Linked DNA regions of Homo sapiens: regions 1, 3, 4, 5, 6 and 7 are each linked to region 2. Evidence: promoter capture Hi-C in 16 types of primary human blood cells and fetal thymus (Javierre and others, 2016). All regions are on one chromosome and are shown on one strand. Each heading gives the region's core, a stretch centred on a gene start or on the middle of the fragment in contact. The rest is flanking DNA. Distances are from core to core; before and after follow the strand shown. Region 1 overlaps INPP4A (inositol polyphosphate-4-phosphatase type I A). Region 2 holds the start of ACTR1B (actin related protein 1B). Region 3 overlaps CNGA3 (cyclic nucleotide gated channel subunit alpha 3). Region 4 has its middle 44 kb from the start of INPP4A. Region 5 overlaps INPP4A (inositol polyphosphate-4-phosphatase type I A). Region 6 overlaps INPP4A (inositol polyphosphate-4-phosphatase type I A). Region 7 overlaps INPP4A (inositol polyphosphate-4-phosphatase type I A).

Region 1 (2,700 bases), core at 140-2,639, 850 kb after region 2:
ACGGGGAAGCCCGTGTCCTTATCTCTTCAGTTCCCGGCCCTCTTGGAGCAGCATGTCTCCTTTGATGAGGGGGTTGAAATACTGGATGCTTTCCTCGGTCCTTTCATACACTTATTCAGAAATTTATGTGACACGCTGGAAGGACTTCCTGGACAACAGACGGGCAAACTTTCAGTTAATTGTGTGAGGGCTTCAAGTGGTTTCAAGTGACAATGGAGTAAGAAATGAGACTTGTCAAAGTCCTTGCCTGTTGTAGGAGAGAGAACCGCGCTGCTCCTGGTGCACGCTGACTGCAGTCCTAACCACGCAGCTCTGACAGCAGACCGCCATGTACAGTGTTCCTGTTGTCTTTGTCTGTGGTATTGTGAAATTGATGTGGTAATCAAATGACGAATGAGGCCTGGTGCGCGGGAGTGAGAGGGGTCATGTATGGGAACACTGGGTTGATTCACCTCAAGAAAAAGCCCCAGAATCCCTGGCTGCAGAACCCAGGGGTGCCGCTGCCTGGAAAGGACAGAGTAGCAAGCCAGCCCCTCACCCAAGGGAAGGCTTCAGAAGAGGCTTGGCCCCCACCATTGTGGGCCTCAGGTTGTCTACCATTCATCTTTGTTACACTTTGTGATGTAGCTCTGGACCAAGCCTCTTATCATCTTTGTATCCCTAAGGCCTGCTCCATAATAGACCCTCAACTGTTTGTTAAAGCAGGAGTCCACAGTCCCCGGGCTGCAGACCAGTACTGGCCTGTGGCCTGTTAGGAACTGGGCTGCACAGCAGGAGGCGAGTGGCAGGCATTACTGCCTGAGCTCCACTTCTTGTCAATCAGCGGTGGCATTAGATTCTCGTAGGAGCACAAACCCTGTTGTGAACTGCGTATGTGAGGGATCTGGGTTGCGTGCTCCTTATGAGAATCTAACTAATGCCTGATGATCTGAGGTGGAACAGTTTCGTCGCGAAACCACTCCCCTTGACCAGCCCCCCAAAATTGTCTTCCACAAAACCAGTCCCTGGTGTCAATAAGGTTGGGGACTGCTGTGTTAAAGAGATTGCCAGTTTACAGAGAAGAAACAGCATGAGGTGCAGAAGCAAGAAATTGGAGGTGCTGAAGAAAGAGTGGCTGAAGTGTGTGGTGTGGAAGGCAGTCGGCAGATCCCCGCCCACCCCAGGCTGCTCCTGGCACCTCCCAGACATTGCGCTTGTGATTATTGACACATCTCACTCATCTCCCAGATTGTGAGCACCTGTTTTGCTCAGCACAAACATTTTAAAGCACTTTTTTCAGGGCAACTTATTTTCAAACTGCTTCTTACAGAAAATCCCCTGAACGTTCATGGTATATGGGTGAACCACAAGGAGCTGAGCTGCAGTTGTAAACTGGGCTGTCCCAAAGAACTCCAGGAGAAGCTGGGAACCAAGAAGGACATAAAAGAAGTGAGGGAATTGCCTGCCTTGTTATCTGAGGAAGGGCAGTCCCAGAGAGGGTGGCTGATGCAAAGGCCACACCAGATAAAAGTCTAAACAGCAAAGAGGCCAGGGCAGGAGCAGGATGAAGACACTGCTAGGAGGTTCACAGGCCCCGTCATTGCAGTTGGACACAGACTGTGAGGACTGTGGGAGGGACGCTGGTCAAATTCCCAGGGTATGGGAGTTGGGGTACTAAGGGAGTTGAAGTCGTACTTGTGGGGAAGATAGAGCTAATAGAGTTGTCAATGGATTGGATGTGGGATGTGAGAGGAGGAGGAGGCCAGGATGTTATTTCTTGCCTGGAGCAAGTGGAAGGACAGAACTCCATCTACTGAGATGGGAAACCTTGAGGGGCTGGTGAGGTGAAAGAGGAAGGCTGGAACGGTCTGGGCTTGTTCTGCTCCTGGAGCATCCTCCTCTGCCCTCTTGTTTACAGGGATATCCATGTCCCTATCCAAGGTATCTCAGTCAGTTCAGGCTGCTATAACAAAATAACTGAGACTGGTAAACAGCAGAAATGTACTTCTTAGACCTGTGGATGTTGGGAAGGCGCTGGCATTTAGGGTCTGCTGAGGGCCTTCTTGCCATGTCCTCACATGACAAAAGGTGAAGGGCAAAAAGGGCCTACCTAGTTCCCTCCAGCCCTTTCATACAGCACTAATCCCACCTATGAGGCCAGAGCCCTCAGGGTCTAATCACCTCCCAAAGGCCCCGCTTCTTAATACTATCACATTGATGGCTACATTTCAACATAAGGAATTCTGGGGGACACATTCAGACTGTAGCACAGTGACTGACTCCCTCCATTGGAGTCTGGGATGTGCATTTGTATTCTGGTTCAGGCCCTGTATTATAGTAGTAAGCATATTTATTAAACTAATGAGGCATGTCAGTTAAGTAAATGAAGTTAACTCATTGCCATTGCTGCCTGTCCATCATCACTGGCAGACAGTAGGGCTTGGGAAATGGAAAGCCAGAGATAAATGAACATCTCCCAGTGAGCACAAGCTCGGGGGCCCTAAGTCAGGTCATTTGTGTCTGCAGGTGAGAAGGGATACGCATTGCCAGCATGTTACTTCTCTTCCTGTGCTTGATTCAATTTTTTTTTTTTTGAGATGGAGTCTCGCTTTGTTGCCCAGGCTGGAGTGCAGTAGTGCGATCTGGGCTCACTGCAACCTCCACCTCCCGGGTTAAAGCGATTCTTCTGCCTCAGCCTCCCAAGTAGCTGGGACTACAGGC
Region 2 (2,700 bases), core at 170-2,669:
AACCTCCCACCCAGCGAAGGGATAAGCTTCTCAACTCAGTCCCACCACTCTTCATCGCAACCCTCTGAGTCTGCAGCAGAAACAAACATCTCCAAGTTACAGAGGAGGGGATGGAATCCCCAAGGGGCCGAGCGGTAGCCCTTTTAACTTATAAGCCTGTTGATTAGCCTATACGAGTTATTTGCACGTCAAGAAAGGAAGTAGCCTGCTCCTTCCTGCAGCGTCCTGCTGGTGTGACAGCACGTCCCCAAGCTCAGTGCTAACCTCCTTATTAAACATCCCCTGCTGTGACTCAGGGAACCCACATGGGTACTCTAAAACAGTCATTCAGGGACCCCACGGGGTCATGTGGGAGGGAGACAGATCCCAGAAAGAGCACAAGTGAGTCATTACCAAAAACTCCAAGGCCCGCACACCGGACGCACATACCCAGCTAGGGGCAGACTCAAAGATCCCAGCCCTTATCTTCTCCCCATATCAGAGCTCGGAAGCCAGAAATCTTCCTAAGGCAGGTGAAAGCAAGCCGAGCCCCACTGCTGAAGGACAAAGCCACAGGAAGCCTGATGACATCTTTCCTCTGAGGCTTCCAAACGATCACCCCAAATTGCTTGCTGATACTGGGAAGAGTGGCCATGAACTCTCCATTGCTCTGCTGGCTGTGGAATGTTTGCTCAGCACAGGAAGCATTTAAGGAGAAAGTCAAAGTAGCCAAAAGGCAAACCAGATGGTGGTGGACATGTGGGTGACAGAGCATCCTGCATTTGTTGCCTCGGGGTGCAGCCCCAAAGATAAAGCCAGCAGTGTGCAAATGACAAATGCTACCCCACCTCCGCCAGGCAGCCAGAGCCAGGGCCGAAGGACGCGGAAAGGAACTGGTGTGGAAACCTGCCCAGGAACCGCACTCTCAACTGAGAAGAGTCCGGGGCGCGTCCCCGCCCGGCCGCCCGGCTGTCACTCAAGCTCTCCTGAACTTCCCCGCCCGACTCGGGGAGGGGTCGGGGAAGAGGCTCTGCGACGCGGGCGAGGGGGCTCGCCCCATGGCCGGCCTTACAAGGCCAAGAGGGCGCGCGCCCCCGGGGCGAAGCCAGCGGCCCGGCGGGGGCGACGGCCACGCAGTGAGCGGAGGACGCGCCGAGGCGGGCGGGGGTCTCTCCCTGCGCCGCCGCGTGCGCCCCCGGGGGCGGGGCGCCCGCCCTCCCCCTGGCTGCCGGGCCTCACGTTGTCGATGACCACAGGCTGGTTGGCGATGATGTCGTAGGACTCCATGGCCGGGCCGCGCCGGCCCTGCCCAGCAGGCGGGCTGCAGGAGGCACCGGATGGGCGGGCGGGCGGGAGGACCGGGACGGCGGCGGCTCCCGACGCGGCGCCGCTGCCCTCCCTCCCCGAGCCTGCAGCCTACGCGAGCCCCGCGGGGCTTTCTGGAGGGCGGGCCCGGCGGCCAATCATCGCTCCCACCTGGCCCGATTGACAGCAGGTGCCCGGGGCTGGCTGCGCGAAGGGGGCGGGGCCTCCGGAGGCTGGCCAGCCAATTGAGGTCGTCCGGAAAAAAGTGGTCGCGGCGTTGCCAAGGTAGGCTGCGCAGTGTCTGGGATGATGTCATGGCTCCGTCTTAAAGGGGACGCGGGCGGCAGAAAGTGGAGCTGGGCTGGTGTGCGCGCGGCCGGAGTCTGTGGAGCTGGAAATTCACCGGTCCAGGAAGACGTCTTTCCCGCGTCCCAGCACCGGTCCAGAAAGACGTCTTTCCCGCGTCCCAGCACCTCGGGCCACGCTCCTTCGTGAGAGCGCCCTCTCCAAGGAGGCCGGCCCTGGATATTTCACCCAAAATATTTATTTTTTCTTTTTTTCTAGGTAAGGTGTCTTGCTCTGTCGCTCAGGCTGGAAATCTTGGGCTCAAGCGATCCTCCCGCGCCAGCCAGTAGGGGGGACTACAGGCGCGCACCATATTTATTTATTTTTACTGAAATAGTCTCCGTAGAGACTGTTAAAAATTGCCGATGTCGACTATATTGCAAGTCGTCACGGTGGGGTATTGCGAAAAGTTTTCAATTAGCAATAATCGCGCTTCGGATAAACCTCATTGGCCACCATACGGCCACCGCGCAACGCTAGCTAATTAAAAAAAATTTTTTTTGTAGAGAAGGGATCTCGCTATGTTCCCCGGGCTAGCCTCGAACTCCTGAGCTTAAGCGATCCTCCCGCTTAGTCTTTCCAAAGCGTTGGGATTACAGGCGTCAGCTATTGCGCACGGCCCCATAATATTTCCTCGTTGAGCACTGAAGAAAAGATCCTTTTCCTTATAAAAATTACAGTTTCGTGGTATTTTGGTCCTGGCATTTATTGAGCACCTGCTCTGTGCCTGCGGAGCACTTCTGCCCACTTTACATAAGTTATATTAAATCCTTGCAACAATATCAGGTAGTTGTATTATTACTCCCATTTTTCAGTCAGGGTCTTCACACTTTGGTAACCTGCCCAAGATTATTGGGTGTGGAATTGGCATGCAGGTAGCCCCCTGCGGCACTGGAGTCAGCTGCTTCAAGAGTGCAGGATAGTTGAGTTCTACATTTGTTTACCAAACGGATCCATAGTTATTTCCCTGTATATATACCTCTCCCAATGGGTTGTGAGCATAAAATTTGTAAAATTGAAGCGGGTGTGCAGAAATCACAAGTGTACATGTACATTTCAATGAATGATTAA
Region 3 (2,700 bases), core at 1-2,500, 720 kb after region 2:
CTTGACAATACCACCCCGTATTCTTCAAGCTGTGAGTGCAAAGGCTGGAAGCAGTGGGATAGGGATTGGGGGGTGGGGCATGGTAATCCCCTGGTGAAATGGCCCCAAGGAATGGAAACAGAGTTCAGACCCTTGATGTTCTCTCTACCTTCCCGCAGCGCCTGGCCCCTGGCCAAATGCAACACTAACACCAGCAACAACACGGAGGAGGAGTAAGTACCCACACACCCAGCAGAGCCCTCCCCAAGCCCGGTGCCCTCCACCCCATAGAAGCCCCAGCTTGGCCTCTCTCCTTAGTGCTCCTGCTCCCCACTCCCAGAGCACCAGTAGAATATTTTAGAATCCTGTTCCCTTCGTTGGAATTCCATCCCTGTGGACAGAAGTCGGGGAGGGATGAGATCTGTGTGACTTCTTGGGGAAGTCGTCTGATCTCTTCGCCTCTCATTTTTCTCATCCATAAAGCAAAGGAATTGGATCAGATAAATGCTTTAAGCTTTAGCACTCTATACCACGATATATCTGAGGGTGCAGAACCGGAGTTCCTTGACAGAGCACTGGAGATTCTCCTTAATGATGAAAAGGCATTTTCTTATTCTACAACCTCAGGCTCTTGAGTGCCAGTGAAATGCCCTTGTTTTTGCTGCTGTTGTTATTGTTGTTTGTTTGTTTGTTTTTGAGATGGAGTCTTGCTCTGTCACCCAGGCTGGAGTGCAGTGGCGCCATCTTGACTCGTTGCAAGCTCCGCCTCCCGGGTTCACGCCATTCTCCTGCTTCAGCTTCCCGAGTAGCTGGGACTACAGGCGCCCGCCACCACACCCGGCTAGTTTTTTTGTATTTTTAGTAGAGAGGGGGGGTTTCACCGTGTTAGCCAGGATGGTCTCGACCTCCTGACCTCGTGATCCACCCGCCTCGGCCTCCAAAGTGCTAGGATTACAGGCATGAGCCACTGCGCCTCGCCTGAAGTTCCCGTGTTTTAAGGCCAATTTGGGCCAATTTTGGGGGCGTAATCAGAGCAGTGGAAAAAGGCAATTTAAATATGTCCAGAGAATAGCCTCTTCAAAGGGTGACCTGCTATAATTCCTTTTTCCATCACCAGATACTAAGGTGGCAGATTAGGGACAGCGTGGCACTATTCAGGAGGGGAAGTCTTAGTTGGAGATTAGGGAAAAAATACCTATATCAGTGAGAAATGCCGATTTCTTGACTTCCAACAGACAGAGAAATGTGCCAAGGGTTTTTCTTGTTATTTCTCTCTTTGTTCCTCAGCTAGAACTTTTTTCTATTTTCTCCATGAAGGAAGCATGTCTTTTGTTTGCATAAATTTGGACATCAAATCCAGAGACCCAAATGCCAGCCATAACGAAAAATGAGATGATTTTATCTACAAAGCAATAGCTATAGTGATATGTGTTTGACTTAAAGCCAAACCTGACACTAAACACCCTTGCAGCTGCAGTATCAAGTCTTTCAGGCAGGGAACGGCTCCAGATACTGAAACCATGGACAGAGGTCCTGGGGGTTTCTAGGCATCTTTGTCCTGGGGCTGGGGTGTGGGCAAGGATGTGGGTGGATAGCGTGGGCTGCACCCGGCTCTTCAATCTTTCAATAAATGGGCTCACTTCACTGGTCCACTTTGAAGCCAAGGACCAAGGGACAAAACTGGGAACTATCCCAAAATGAGGACACACACAAAATAATTATTTATGAACACCTTCCCCGACTCTTCACTCCATTTCTGTCATTTTCATATGGTCTCATTTGTCCTGAATAATTTTTCCCTCCCCCATCAAACTGTTCCCAGCCAAAACCAGCAGCATTTTGCAGTTCTGTGTAGGGTTCTTTTGGGGCAGTGCTGGGTGGATTTGGGGATGCAGCCGATGGTGCTGGGTCTTTCCTAGGCTCTCAGCAGTTTGGTACCCAGACAGGCCAAGGCCCGTAATCCAGGGCCACAAATCTTGCACAAGGCAAGCTGAGTCCGGCGTAAACTGCAGGGCAAAGCTCACCCAAAAAGCTTGAGGGCAGCGCCGTCTGCTGGTGACTTGACGTTAAGACTCCAGTGCCTGAAAAGAGACCAGGGTTCACATCACCCTGGAGGACAGAGGAGGGGTAACTTTCCTTGCTCTTTTCATTTAATGATTTTAATAACCTTTTATTCTAATTCACTTTATTGAAATACTCTTGCTGAAAACTTGGAAAACAAGAAAAGCACACAGGGGCATACACACACAAAAACTGCACTTCATGCTAACCATGGAATTCCACTATCAGAGATAGCCCCACTTAACATGTTGACAAATATACTTCCAACTTCTTCCTAGGCATATATATTGAATACTTAGATTGATACAATATATTTTATATATACATATACTTGTTAAGAGCATCTGTTTCCCAACTCAGTTGCCTCAGAGCTTTGTGACCTTGGACAAGTGTATTAGTCCATTCTCACATTGCTAGAAAGAAATGCCTGAGACTCGGTAATTTATCAGAAAAGTGGTTTAATTGGCTTGAGGTACTGCAAGCTATACAGGAAGCATAGCAGCTTCTGCTTCTGGGGAGGCCTCAGGAAGCTTTCAATCATGGTGGAAGGCAAAGGGGGAGCAAGGAGTCTCAAACGGCAGGAGCAGGAGGAAGGTGGGGTAGGTGCCGTAAACAACCAGATCTCAAGAAAACTCACTCACTGTCTCAAGCAAAGCACCA
Region 4 (2,700 bases), core at 20-2,519, 740 kb after region 2:
TGTGTGTGTGTGTGTGTGTGTGTGTATGTATATATATGTTGGTATACATAGATATATTTCTAACTCTGTGTACCAAGAAGGCTTGGCAGTGATACCTATTACAAAGAGCACACCAAGCACCCAGATCTTGGTTTCCAAATATCTTTCTCCAATAAAAGGAACCAGGGCTGATTCTAGGGCTGAGACGGGGAAAATATACCATGAGCATGGAGTGTCTTGTAGTGCCGGAAAGTACTCAAAAAGCACAATGTTGGGGGGCAAGTGGCGATAGGGCTTTCTACATACACACACACACACACACACACACACACACACACACACACACAATGATGGAAGTAAATTAGAGGGACATAGCAACCAACCTGAAAGAGCTCCCAATGGCCAAAACTGAAGCCATTTGAAAAACAAAATTTTTAAATTTAGTATTAGACTATATCCCAAAGTATAAAAGTCCATGAGTCTATGCCATAAATGAATGATTGAATAAATAAATTAATGAGGGAGAAAGGACACATATTTTTTACAGAAGGATTCCAGATCATATATGTAGATTATTTGATACTTTCCACCCCAGGATGTAAAGCCTTATTGATGGATCTTGCACTCAGAACTGGAGCCAAGGATCCAGCAGCCTCTACACTGCCATGGGGGAACATAATGTCAATATCAACTGGTCATGTGAATGGGATTACAGTAAGGAGGTTGAGGTGGGAAAGTTATCCTGGATTTTCCAAGGGGACCTGATATAATCACAAGGATTCTGATAAGTGGGAGGCAGGAAGATCAGAGAGAGGAAGGCAATGTAACAATTAAAGAATATGTATTATTATTATGGTAGAAACTTCATTAAGATTTTTGAGATTCTGGAAAAATGGTGGTGGTGGCAGTGTAGTTTGTTGGGCTCTCTAAGTCCTCACATAAAACACAGCAAATAAGATAACAAATCTAAAGATCCACAGACAACATCTGACATCCCTGAGGATATGAAAACACCCAAATCACCAACAGGTGCTCACTAAAAAGCATGGAGAGCCTGTCTGAGAACAGCTGGAATTAAGGGAGATTCTGCAGGGATCAATTTGTGGGTGACAGCAAATTGACAATGATGCTGCAAGATTGATGTGCAGGGACACTCTCGGTGCTGCACACTCTGGATGTTCACAGAATAAAGCTTCTTTCTTTATTTGAGAAACATCTATTCAGATCCTTTGCCCATTTTTACATTGGGTTATTTGTTTGCTTGCTATTGAGTTGTTTGAGTTCCTTATATATTTTAGATATTAACCCTCATCAATGTATGGTTTGCAAATATTTTCTCTCATTCTGTAGGTTGTCTCTTCACTCTTGTTTGTTTCCTTGGCTGTGCAGAAGCTTTTTAGTTTAATGTAATCCTATTTGTCTATTTTTGCTTTTGTGGTCTGTGTTTTTGGGTTCACATCTTTAAAAATAATTTCCCAGATCAATGTCATGGAGGATTTACCCTATGTTTTCTTCTAGTATGAAAGAAGCTTCCTTCTAAGACAAAACCCCTCACTGAGAGACAATTTGGAGTAAAATCCAAATTGATCACAGGACAGAAACAGTAGTGACAAAGGAAAGAAAAAGTTTAGATAAAAGAGGGTAGAGAAGCAGAGGAGGTAGCACTACTTCATATATATTTTTATCACTTTGAGAAAACAGCCGAAGAGAGAATTAGAGAACTATGAAGTTAGAAAAAAGTAAATCATGCTCCATCTCTTCTCTCTAAAGTATAAGCACATTCAACTCACTTAGAAGACGAACAACAGAAAAGATGCACCCTCAAATTTCATGCAAAGTCTTTATTAAAAAGACAGCGAGGAAGAATCAGATGGAGTATAACATCTCTGCAGATAATGAAACCCACCAGAAAGACATGCCCACAGAACGGATGTAAACTGACTCATCATTTCAAAACCAGCCAAGAGAAATTAAGAGAATGATAGATGCTATTAAAAAAAAAACAGCATAAACCAGAATCAAGGATGAGGTGATTGAGGAAAAGGAAGATTTGACAAGAGCTGTAACAGAACTCAGAAAAGTACTAGAAATAAAAGAACAAAAAAAATTTTAAAAACTGAATTAAAAGGAACACAAGAGCAAATAAACATAGTAAGCAATGTTTTAAGAGAAATCAAAGATGGAAAGGAAAAATGTCTTAAAAATCAAAAAAGATATTCCGAATATGACATTTGGGAAAGGACAAAATTGTGGCAAAAGTAAAAAAAAAAAATTAGTGTTTGCCAGGGGTTGGGGGAGTAGAAGCATAAACAGGTGGAGTGCAGAGAGTTTCAGGGCACTGAAAATACTCTGTATGATACTGTAGTGGTAAATACATGTTGTTATACCTTTGTGAAAACCCACAGAATGTTCAACACCAAGAGTGGACACCAATGTAAACTATGGACTTCAAGAGAAAAATTGTCAGTGTAGGTTCATCTGTCACAGCAAATGCACCTTTGATACCACTTTCAAAAATATGAAGTATGTTGCAGGTATATGGGAATTTTGCTGTGAACCTAAAACTGCTCCCAAAATGCTTTTTTTTAATCAAAAAGAAATGAAAAAGATAAAAAGAATTTGTGAGAAAAGTGATGGAGAATAAACAACAAAGATCTAGCATGTTAATAAGAATCCCAAACAAGTACCAAAGCACAGGAATAGAGCACAACACTAAAACTT
Region 5 (2,700 bases), core at 59-2,558, 920 kb after region 2:
CCTGGTCTGCTCCCCAGGAGCCTTGGTGCCATTCAGGCCTGATGTCCAGTGTGACCCTGGTGCTGAGGGACGGCAGCCACGCCTGTGCCCATTAGCTGCACGGTGGTGGGAGGGGACATTCTGGTGAGCTGCAGACCTCAGCCAGTGAAGAAAGGAGAACAAAGTGGACAGGGATCCCTGTGGTAGTGGCAGCAAGGAGCAGGATCAGGGCCAGTCAGGAGCTGGCACCCCAAGTTAGGCACACAGTCCATGCGGAAACCTCTACTCAGTTCTCGGGCTCTCGAACAAGTTCAACGGAAACAATTCATTCTGACCACCTCTGAACACAAAGACCTCAGGAGACCAGTGACAAAGTGGCCCCCTGGAGAGCCACAGTGCGATGGCAGGCCTGTCACTGAGCCCAGACCCGCAAGGGCCCCATCCGCCTGCCCCTAGCACACTTGGGTTGTGTGCTCAGGACAGCCGTTACAGTTACAGCTGTTAGGATGTATAGTGCACAAAGCACTTTTTATAACTTTTACTCACATAAGGAATTGAAAATCCTTGTAGGAAAATTAGGAAATACAGATAAGCCCCTACACTAGTTCCTCAGAACCCTCCCACAAAGAATCCCCCAGTTTCCTAATGTGAACAGGTAGCGCTGCGGACATTTGGATACATACTGTCTAGATAAGAGACATGCGTACATGCCTATGGGCGTGAGTATGTACACATGGGCCAACCAGTCCCTGAATTACACAGAACAAAAACACCCACATGCACAAACAAGTGTAATTATATTTGCAAATAACAGTCTTGTGAGCATTTTTTAGGTTAATAAATGTAGACCTTATCACTTTTTTTTTCTTTTTTTTTTTTTGAGATGGAATCTTGCTCTGTCACCCAGGCTGGAGTGCAATGGTGCAGTCTTGGCTCACTGCATCCTCCACCTCCAGAGTTTAAGCAATTCTGCCCTTGCCTCCTGAGTAGCTGGGATTACAGATGCCCACCACCACACCTGGCTAATTTTTTGTATTTTTAGTAGAAACGGGGTTTGGCCATGTTGGCCGGGATGTTCTCAAACTCCTGACCTCAGGTGATCCGCCCACCTTGGCCTCCCATAGTGCTGGGATTACAGACGTGAGCCACCATGCCCAGCCGCATTTTACACACTATAATTTATCCAATTTGCTGTCATTGAATATTTAAGCTGTATATGGTTTTCCAGCATTTTAATCAAAGGTGCAGTGAATATCCTTATACATTCCCCTAGCCACATTGCCTTAGGTTAAAAAGTATACACCTTTGTAAGGCTTTTGAATAATTTTAGTACAGATCACCAAATGGTCCCCACAGTAGCCACTCTCCTGCCCAGTGTCCCAGAGTGCACGAGGCACTGCCCATGCCGGGCGCTGTCTTTCCTGTCACTCTTGTGAGGCTTCTGAAGCTGTAAGGGCTGTTGTTTCTCTGCATTAGCAGTAAGGGCCCTGGGGCCTGGCAAAGGGAAGGCCCTTCCTCCTGTGGGAACAGGCAGCATTCCCTCCACCCTGCCCTCTTCCTTTCTAAACCCCACCCCTGCCTCCAATCATGGATGCCTTTTTTACTTGCTTATTTCTTTGTTTTCTGAAATCTCTACAGTGAACATGTATCACTTTAATAGTTTTTAAAGAAGTTATAAAAACAAAACAAAGCTCAATCCTACTTTACCTGTGCCTGCCCCAGAATTCTCGCACCAGCTCTGGGGACATGGCTCACTGCCACCTTGAGCCAACCCTTGCAGGTCTGAGGCTCTTGTCACAGGCATTTGTTTTAAGGTGACTTCTGTTTTCGATACGATCCCATGAGGGGAAGACATGTACCTGTTCAGGCGGCTGCAAGCCGAGGTGGCTGGGTCACAAGCTAGCAGCTCTGGCTGCTGGGGTGCCGAGTACCTGCAGTTTAGCTGAGGGCCCCAGAAGGCAGCATAAACTTCCACCCTGCCCGTGGGTGCAGGAGGACATTTTGGTTCCTGGCTTTCTGGCTTGCATCTTATCAGACGGAAGAGTAGAGCATGCAGGTGGGGGTGGAGGGGGTGGGGGCCAAGCTGGCACCCAGGCTTTTCTCCTGGAGGCCCAGGGTGAACCATGGCCAGTGCTGTGCTGTAAATGTTCAGCCACCAGCTCTCTCCCCAAAAGCCCTGATCTGTAATGTTTGCCATTTCTGTGGCATAAACGCTTCTACCAGGGCCCATTTCAAGCTCCCATGTGGCACCATTGAACATGGAGTTGGGAAGAGATTCACACATTTGGCCACTGGGGTGTTCCTGTCCCCAGTCCTGGGGCTGAACCCCTCGAAGTAGGCCTTCCTGAGTAGCCACAGGGCCCTGCCAGCCTCTCCTGGCAGGGAATGTGGCAGTGGGTCGGTGCTCCGCAGCTTGGGAATTGTGCCCTCTCAGAATGGCACATTCCAGCAGGGCCATGGGGGCTTCGGGGCTCCTCTGGGAGAGCTGGGGAGGGCTCTGTGTGAAGAGGAACCCTGGGCCTCCTGCCTCCCCATCTCCAAGTGGAGCCTTCACAGGCTGCCTGCTGTGTCCTCAGGCCTCTGATTCTGTGTCACTGCTGCCACTTGGCAGACATAAATGTGCTTCCAGAGTCATGTGGTTCTAGGTACCATCTCACCTCAGTGCAGTTCTTCTGTAGCACCAAAAGGGGGAAGAAGCCCCAAATTTCTAGTGTGGTATTG
Region 6 (2,700 bases), core at 116-2,615, 790 kb after region 2:
CTGGCCAATTTTTAAATATTTTATAGGGGCTGGATCTCACACTGTGTTGCCCAGGCTGGTCTCAGACTCCTACTCTCGCCATCCTCCTGCGTTGGCCGACCACAGTGCTGAGTTTACAGGCGTGAGCCACTGTGCCCGAATAATGCTGCAGCCTTCTTAATGTATCCCATCAGGAGGCATATGCTGTGATTATCCCATTCTCTGGCCCTGCTAACTTTGATCACTTGAATTAAGGTGGTGTCTATCTCATGGAAAAGTTACCATTTTTCCCTTTGTAGTTAATCTGTGTCTTAAAGGAAGAGAATTTGAGACTATGTAAATATAGTTACTGCTCATACAATTAACTGACTAGTTTCAGAATTCATTGATGTTTCTTACCTGAGTCAATTATTATGATAGTAGGCAGATGATGATTTTCATGGTTCCTTCTATATTTATTAGTTGGAACTGTACTGAAAGGAAGAAACCTTCCTTTCTCTATTATTTACTTTTTGATTTACATCACTGGACTCATGAATTCTTGCTTTATTCAATAGATTATAGTCCATTACTCCCATTATGCATTTTGTTGCTCAAATTATCCTAGATTTGGCCAGTGGGAGTCCCTTCAGTCTGGCTTTTGTGTCCTTTTGACAAGTGCTCATCATTCTTTGAGGACTTTTCTTCCAGGCACAAAATCTTCAAGGACTCAGCTTATACTTTCCTTGTCCCAGCCCTGGAATCAGCCATTTCTCCAAAGAGTCCTGGTTTCCTTTAGTGGAGAGTGGTATAAAAACCGAGATGTAGGCACTATGTATTCTCGTTGCTACTGAGGTGTCACCCATTCTAGACCTTCTCAGGGGATAGATGCTCTCATTGTAAACATAAATGTAGTCACATTACACAAAATTTTCTGTGGCTTGCTTTTTAAATTTGTACTCCTTCCATTAGGCTTTGAAACTGTCTGTTTCCCTTTAACTTGGCCAACATTTAAGAGAATAAATCTTGTTAATTTTGCCAATCTAATGGGCAAGGAAGACATTATTGTTTTAATTGCATTTCCCAAATTACCAAAAATATTGGATACCTTTTCTTGTTAATGTATATTTTAACTTCTAATGAATTACCTGTTTATATCCTTTGTTCATTTTTTCTTGTTGGGCTGTTTTTCCTTATCTTACTAGATTGTGGAAGTTACGGTAACTTTGAATTTTATTCTTGGCAGCTTTAGAATGTTTTTTTAAGTGTGATGCTTTTTTAATTTTTTTTTAAAGTCCTAAATGACAAGGAACCCAAGCTTTTCTGAGTACCCCCTGCATGCCAGGCCTCCCTGGACATCCTGTGGGAGGTTCTGTCCAAAGGTGAGCTGTGGTGTTGAGGAGTGGTTAGAGCATCCCCCGAGGGTAGTTAAAAGAGGCTCAACTGGGACTAAAACCCAGTTATATCACCTAACTTCCTTCACAGGATTGAAAAATGAAAGCTTTTCAATGAGGGATAAAAATTGATTACCTGGATTTGCCAGTATCAACAATTTCTGTTTTCAGTATTTTGGTTTATAAATCAGGAATTTCTTTTACACAGTCCTTTTTGCTGAGCATACACATCTTTCGAAACCATTTATTTTATCCCTAGAACTATTGTGGACTCTGGTGCTGCACTTTCTGTGAGCATCCAGCTAGCTGTGTGACTTTGGGCAAGTGGCTTAATCTTTCTGTGCCTCAGTTATTTCATCCACAAAACTGGGCTGCTGGTAGTAGCAGCCCCAGAGGCTTGTTGGGGGATTAAATGAATTAACATTTAATCCTGGTGCCTAGTAAGTGTGCAGAACGGAAGCATTACAATGGATTCGTATACAGAGTGTGGGTGGTTGGCAGAGCTTGGAATTAGATCAGCCTTTCCTCTGTGGATTTAATCTCTTAGTTGTCTCTTTCTGTTTTTTTTGAGATGGAGTCTCACTCTGTCGCCTAGGCTAGAGTGCAGTGGCTCTAGCCTGCAACCTCGGCTCACTGCAACCTCCGCCCCCTGGGTTCAAGCAGTACTCCTGCCTCACCCTCCCTAGTAGCTGAGATTACAGGCATATACCACCATGCCTGGCTAATTTTGTATTTTTAGTAGAGACGGGGTTTCACCATGTTGGCCAGGCTGTTCTTGAACTCCTCACCTCAGGTGATCCACCCACCTCTGCCCCCCAAAGTGCTGGGATTACAGGCATGAGCCACTGCACCCGGCCTTAGCTGTCCCTTTCACCATAGCCTGTCTGGGATTGGAAAGCCAGGGTCCTGGGTGCAGTGTGCATGTCTCTTTCTGGTCTTTGCACATACCTTTGTCATGCCCTATCAGGCTGTCAGGCCCAGGCCTGCCAGCCAGCCAGCCCAGCTGGCCTCTGGTGTTTGCCCACAGCCCTAACCTGGAGCATGGGTGAGACTGCTGGCCTTTTAATATGAAACTTGTTCAGTGAGGCTCACCTGGCGAGGGACTTAGGCACAGTAAGCAGATGTATATGGTGGGGGCAGTGGGGGGATCATGCTCTGGTGAGGTCTATTTTCTGGAATAGGGTCAGGAAGACAGGGATGTCCTCTGATGTCCAGGAAGAAGGGTGGGGACCTCTGAAAGAGGAAAGTGTTTACCCGCTGCCAGCTCCGGTCCTGGGATCCTCCTAGAGCGCTTTCCCTGAGACACCTGGTAGTTTTCCTGACCTCCGGTTGCTGCAGCGCCCCTCTT
Region 7 (2,700 bases), core at 49-2,548, 810 kb after region 2:
TTATGAATGATAGTGCTTAGCATACTTTCCAACTCAGTGAGACCATGAACTAATTGAATTTGTAATAACCCTGAGTAAATCTTAGTGGACTAATAGTAAAACTTTGAGGTTTTACAGTAAGAAAGTGAGATCCTTAGATATACCAATTTTAATGTCTCAGTAAAGAAAACAATTTTATTGATTGATTGATTGATTGAGACAGGGTCTTGCTCTGTTGTCTAGTCTGGAGTACAGCCATGTAATCATAGCTCATTGCAGCCTTGAACTCCTGGACTTAAGTGATCCTCCCACCTCAGGGTTCTGAGTAGTTGGGAGTACAGAAATGCCTTACCATGCCTAAATTTTATTTTTTATTTTTTTGTAGGGATGGGGGTCTTGCTTTGTTACCCAGGGTGGTCTTGAACCCCTGGCCTCAAATGATCCTCTCACCTTGACCTCCCAAAGCGCTAGGATTTCAGGTATGAGCCACCATGTATGGCTGAAAACAGAAAATTTATAAGGTGCCACTAGGGGAGGGTAATAAAGGAAGGAAGGGGAATGAAATCCAAACCAAAATAAATGCTGTTTAGTGTGTGGCTGGTGGGTCGCATTTCTCATTCTAAGAACTGTGGCATTTCTTTTTGATGGTTCTGTTGATCCTGAAACCAGTGAGACTGCAGTTTGTGAAGGATGATGATAGAAGTCGATAACTCCTCATGGTTCATTGCTGGACCATGAGTTTAGCTGTAACTAGATGCAAAGCTCATGGCTGAGATTGAGAGCCAGAGAGACCCAAAGTCTCTACATCACGCCCACACTGGTACTTCCAGCCTAGGAGGCGTGGTGAATGCCTCCCACAGTGGTTGCTGAGATGGCTTTGAGCAGAGCAGAGATGAGTCAACCATGGCAGGATAAAGTGAACAGCTGGGAAAAGGGGTTTTGGGGGCTGGGGGTAAGGGGAACTGGAATAGTGTTGCAATTTTCCCCATCCTGGCTGTACCTTACCATCACCTAGGGGCTTTTGAAAAACATGGCAGCCTGCCCTCCACCCATGCTGTGCTAATTAGTGTAATCCTGGGTGGGGCCAGCATGACATTTGCCACCTTTCCCATGAGGTGATTTGGAGGTACAGCTGGGGTGGAGAGCAGTGGGCCTTAGAGGTTTAGAACCCAGCCTCCTGGCTGGGCACGGTGGCTCACGCCTGTAATCCCGGCACTTTGGGAGGCCGAGGTGGGTAGATCACGAGGTCAGGAGTTCAAGACCAGCCTGGCCAAGATGGTGAAACCCCATCTCTACTAAAAATACAAAAATTAGTCGGGTGTGGTGGCTGGCATGCGCCTGTAATCCCAGCTTCTCGGGAGGCTGAGGCAAGGAATGGCTTGAACCTGGGAGGCGGAGGTTGCAGTGAGCCGAGATCGCGCCATTGCACTCCAGCCTGGGCAACAGAGCAAGACTCCGTCTCAAAAAAAAAAAAAAGAACTTGGGCCGGGTGCGGTGGCTCATGCCTGTAATGTCAGCACTTTGAGAGGCCAAGGCAGGCAGATCACCTGAGGTCAGGAGTTCGAGGCTAGCCTGACCAACATGGAGAAACCCTGTCTCTACTAAAAATACAAAAAATTAGCCGGGCGTTGGGGCGCATCCCTGTAATCCCAGCTACTTGGGAGGCTGAGGCAGGAGAATCCCTTGAACCTGGGAGGTGGAGGTTGTGGTGAGCTGAGATCACGCCATTGCACTCCAGCCTGGGCAGCAAGAAAGAAATTCCGTCTCAAACAACAACAACAACAACAAAAAGAACTTGGCCTCCTGATGAAATAGGCCCACCTGTTTCAAATCCCCACATATTGGTGTTGAGCCAGTCTCTTAGATGCCGAGCCTCAGTCCCCTCCTTCTCTCAGGCTGTGAAGGTGAACTGTGATGTGCAGAGCTGCAGCATGTTCTGCTGTGCACCAAGGAGGGTTCCACAGTCATAGAGGCATAGTCATGACTGATGTGAAAGGGCCAACGCACGTGACCTCCTGCCCCTGTCCGTCCACATCTCACTTGGTAAAACCACAGCCCTGGTTCTGGCCACTTCTCAGCACAGTGGCCTGTGGCTGGAGAAGAACACATGACATGTTGATGAGTCTGTAAATTCATGACCACAGAGCTCCAGTGAGCCATTGGGAGTGCTTGGCACTCAGAGTGTTTCCCTGTGGTCCTAGACTGGGGAGCGGCCCCTGGATTTTAAAGAGCTCTGGACCCAGTGGTGCAGGTGGGGAGACCTGGCCCCTGGAGGCTGACCCAGTGCACGTGCAGCCCCACCTGGGGTTCCCCTGATTGGACTCCTGCCTCAGGAGGGGCATGAGACTCACTTGGCGCTGCTTCTGAGCTCTAAGTCCTTGCTCCTTAGTGGTCTGTCCCTTCCCTCCGCAGGGAGGCATGGCCCGCTGGGCTTCGGCCCCTGCAAGGAGGCCTGGTGGGGCCTTTCGCCTTCTCAGCCAGGCACTGAAGGAGCAGGAAGGGGAAGCATGATACCAGGACCACAGGAAGAAGTGGTGCTGAGTTGGGTGGTCACTTCCTTGGTGTGACCTCTGGTTAGACGTGGTTCAGGGCCATGTTGCAGGAGGAGCTGGAAGACATTTCTTTTTTTCTTTTTTTTTTTGTTTTTTGAGACGGAGTCTTGCTCTGTTGCCCAGGCTGGAGTGCAGTGGCGCGACCTCGGCTCACTGCAAGCTCCGCCTC

The links. Contacts are between HindIII fragments. The CHiCAGO score rates a contact against its expected background, and 5 or more counts as called.
Region 1: a contact is called between a fragment that was not itself captured here and the fragment with the promoter of ACTR1B in region 2, in 4 of 17 cell types (monocytes, neutrophils, M1 macrophages and 1 more). The highest score is 11.3, in monocytes.
Region 3: a fragment that was not itself captured here is called in contact with the fragment with the promoter of ACTR1B in region 2 in 2 of 17 cell types (monocytes and M0 macrophages); the score reaches 7.0 in monocytes.
Region 4: a contact is called between a fragment that was not itself captured here and the fragment with the promoter of ACTR1B in region 2, in 4 of 17 cell types (megakaryocytes, M1 macrophages, M0 macrophages and 1 more). The highest score is 8.1, in megakaryocytes.
Region 5: a fragment that was not itself captured here is called in contact with the fragment with the promoter of ACTR1B in region 2 in 1 of 17 cell types (monocytes); the score reaches 5.9 in monocytes.
Region 6: a fragment that was not itself captured here is called in contact with the fragment with the promoter of ACTR1B in region 2 in 3 of 17 cell types (activated CD4 T cells, fetal thymus and monocytes); the score reaches 6.7 in activated CD4 T cells.
Region 7: a contact is called between a fragment that was not itself captured here and the fragment with the promoter of ACTR1B in region 2, in 3 of 17 cell types (activated CD4 T cells, neutrophils and monocytes). The highest score is 6.8, in activated CD4 T cells.

Annotation. Positions count from the first base shown.
Region 1 is chr2:98,508,505-98,511,204 of GRCh38, forward strand. All of the region lies in intron 1 of INPP4A (inositol polyphosphate-4-phosphatase type I A), which reads left to right. Among named protein-coding and RNA genes, the nearest start is that of INPP4A, 65 kb to the left of the region's middle. The HindIII fragment of the contact is 9,429 bases long and covers 1-2,700 here.
Region 2 is chr2:97,662,625-97,665,324 of GRCh38, forward strand. It overlaps ACTR1B (actin related protein 1B), which reads right to left and starts at 1,420. Exons shown (of 11, transcript NM_005735.4): 1 at 1,219-1,420. The coding sequence starts at 1,266. It overlaps LOC124900516 (U4 spliceosomal RNA), which reads right to left and starts at 2,107; the gene lies at 1,967-2,107. It also overlaps a transcript of C2orf92 not described here and the pseudogene RNU4-8P. RefSeq lists enhancers at 1-523, 489-558, 1,599-1,938 and silencers at 919-978, 1,059-1,518. The HindIII fragment of the contact is 7,381 bases long and covers 25-2,700 here.
Region 3 is chr2:98,383,230-98,385,929 of GRCh38, forward strand. It overlaps CNGA3 (cyclic nucleotide gated channel subunit alpha 3), which reads left to right. Exons shown (of 8, transcript NM_001298.3): 5 at 159-212. Among named protein-coding and RNA genes, the nearest start is that of CNGA3, 38 kb to the left of the region's middle. RefSeq lists enhancers at 155-732, 733-1,308. The HindIII fragment of the contact is 1,518 bases long and covers 492-2,009 here.
Region 4 is chr2:98,399,956-98,402,655 of GRCh38, forward strand. No RefSeq gene overlaps it. Among named protein-coding and RNA genes, the nearest start is that of INPP4A, 44 kb to the right of the region's middle. The HindIII fragment of the contact is 200 bases long and covers 1,170-1,369 here.
Region 5 is chr2:98,578,212-98,580,911 of GRCh38, forward strand. The region is part of intron 24 of INPP4A (inositol polyphosphate-4-phosphatase type I A); the gene reads left to right. Among named protein-coding and RNA genes, the nearest start is that of COA5, 29 kb to the right of the region's middle. The HindIII fragment of the contact is 8,329 bases long and covers 1-2,700 here.
Region 6 is chr2:98,448,862-98,451,561 of GRCh38, forward strand. The region is part of intron 1 of INPP4A (inositol polyphosphate-4-phosphatase type I A); the gene reads left to right. Among named protein-coding and RNA genes, the nearest start is that of INPP4A, 5.4 kb to the left of the region's middle. The HindIII fragment of the contact is 183 bases long and covers 1,275-1,457 here.
Region 7 is chr2:98,468,059-98,470,758 of GRCh38, forward strand. The region is part of intron 1 of INPP4A (inositol polyphosphate-4-phosphatase type I A); the gene reads left to right. Among named protein-coding and RNA genes, the nearest start is that of INPP4A, 25 kb to the left of the region's middle. RefSeq lists a silencer at 732-861. The HindIII fragment of the contact is 3,455 bases long and covers 1-2,700 here.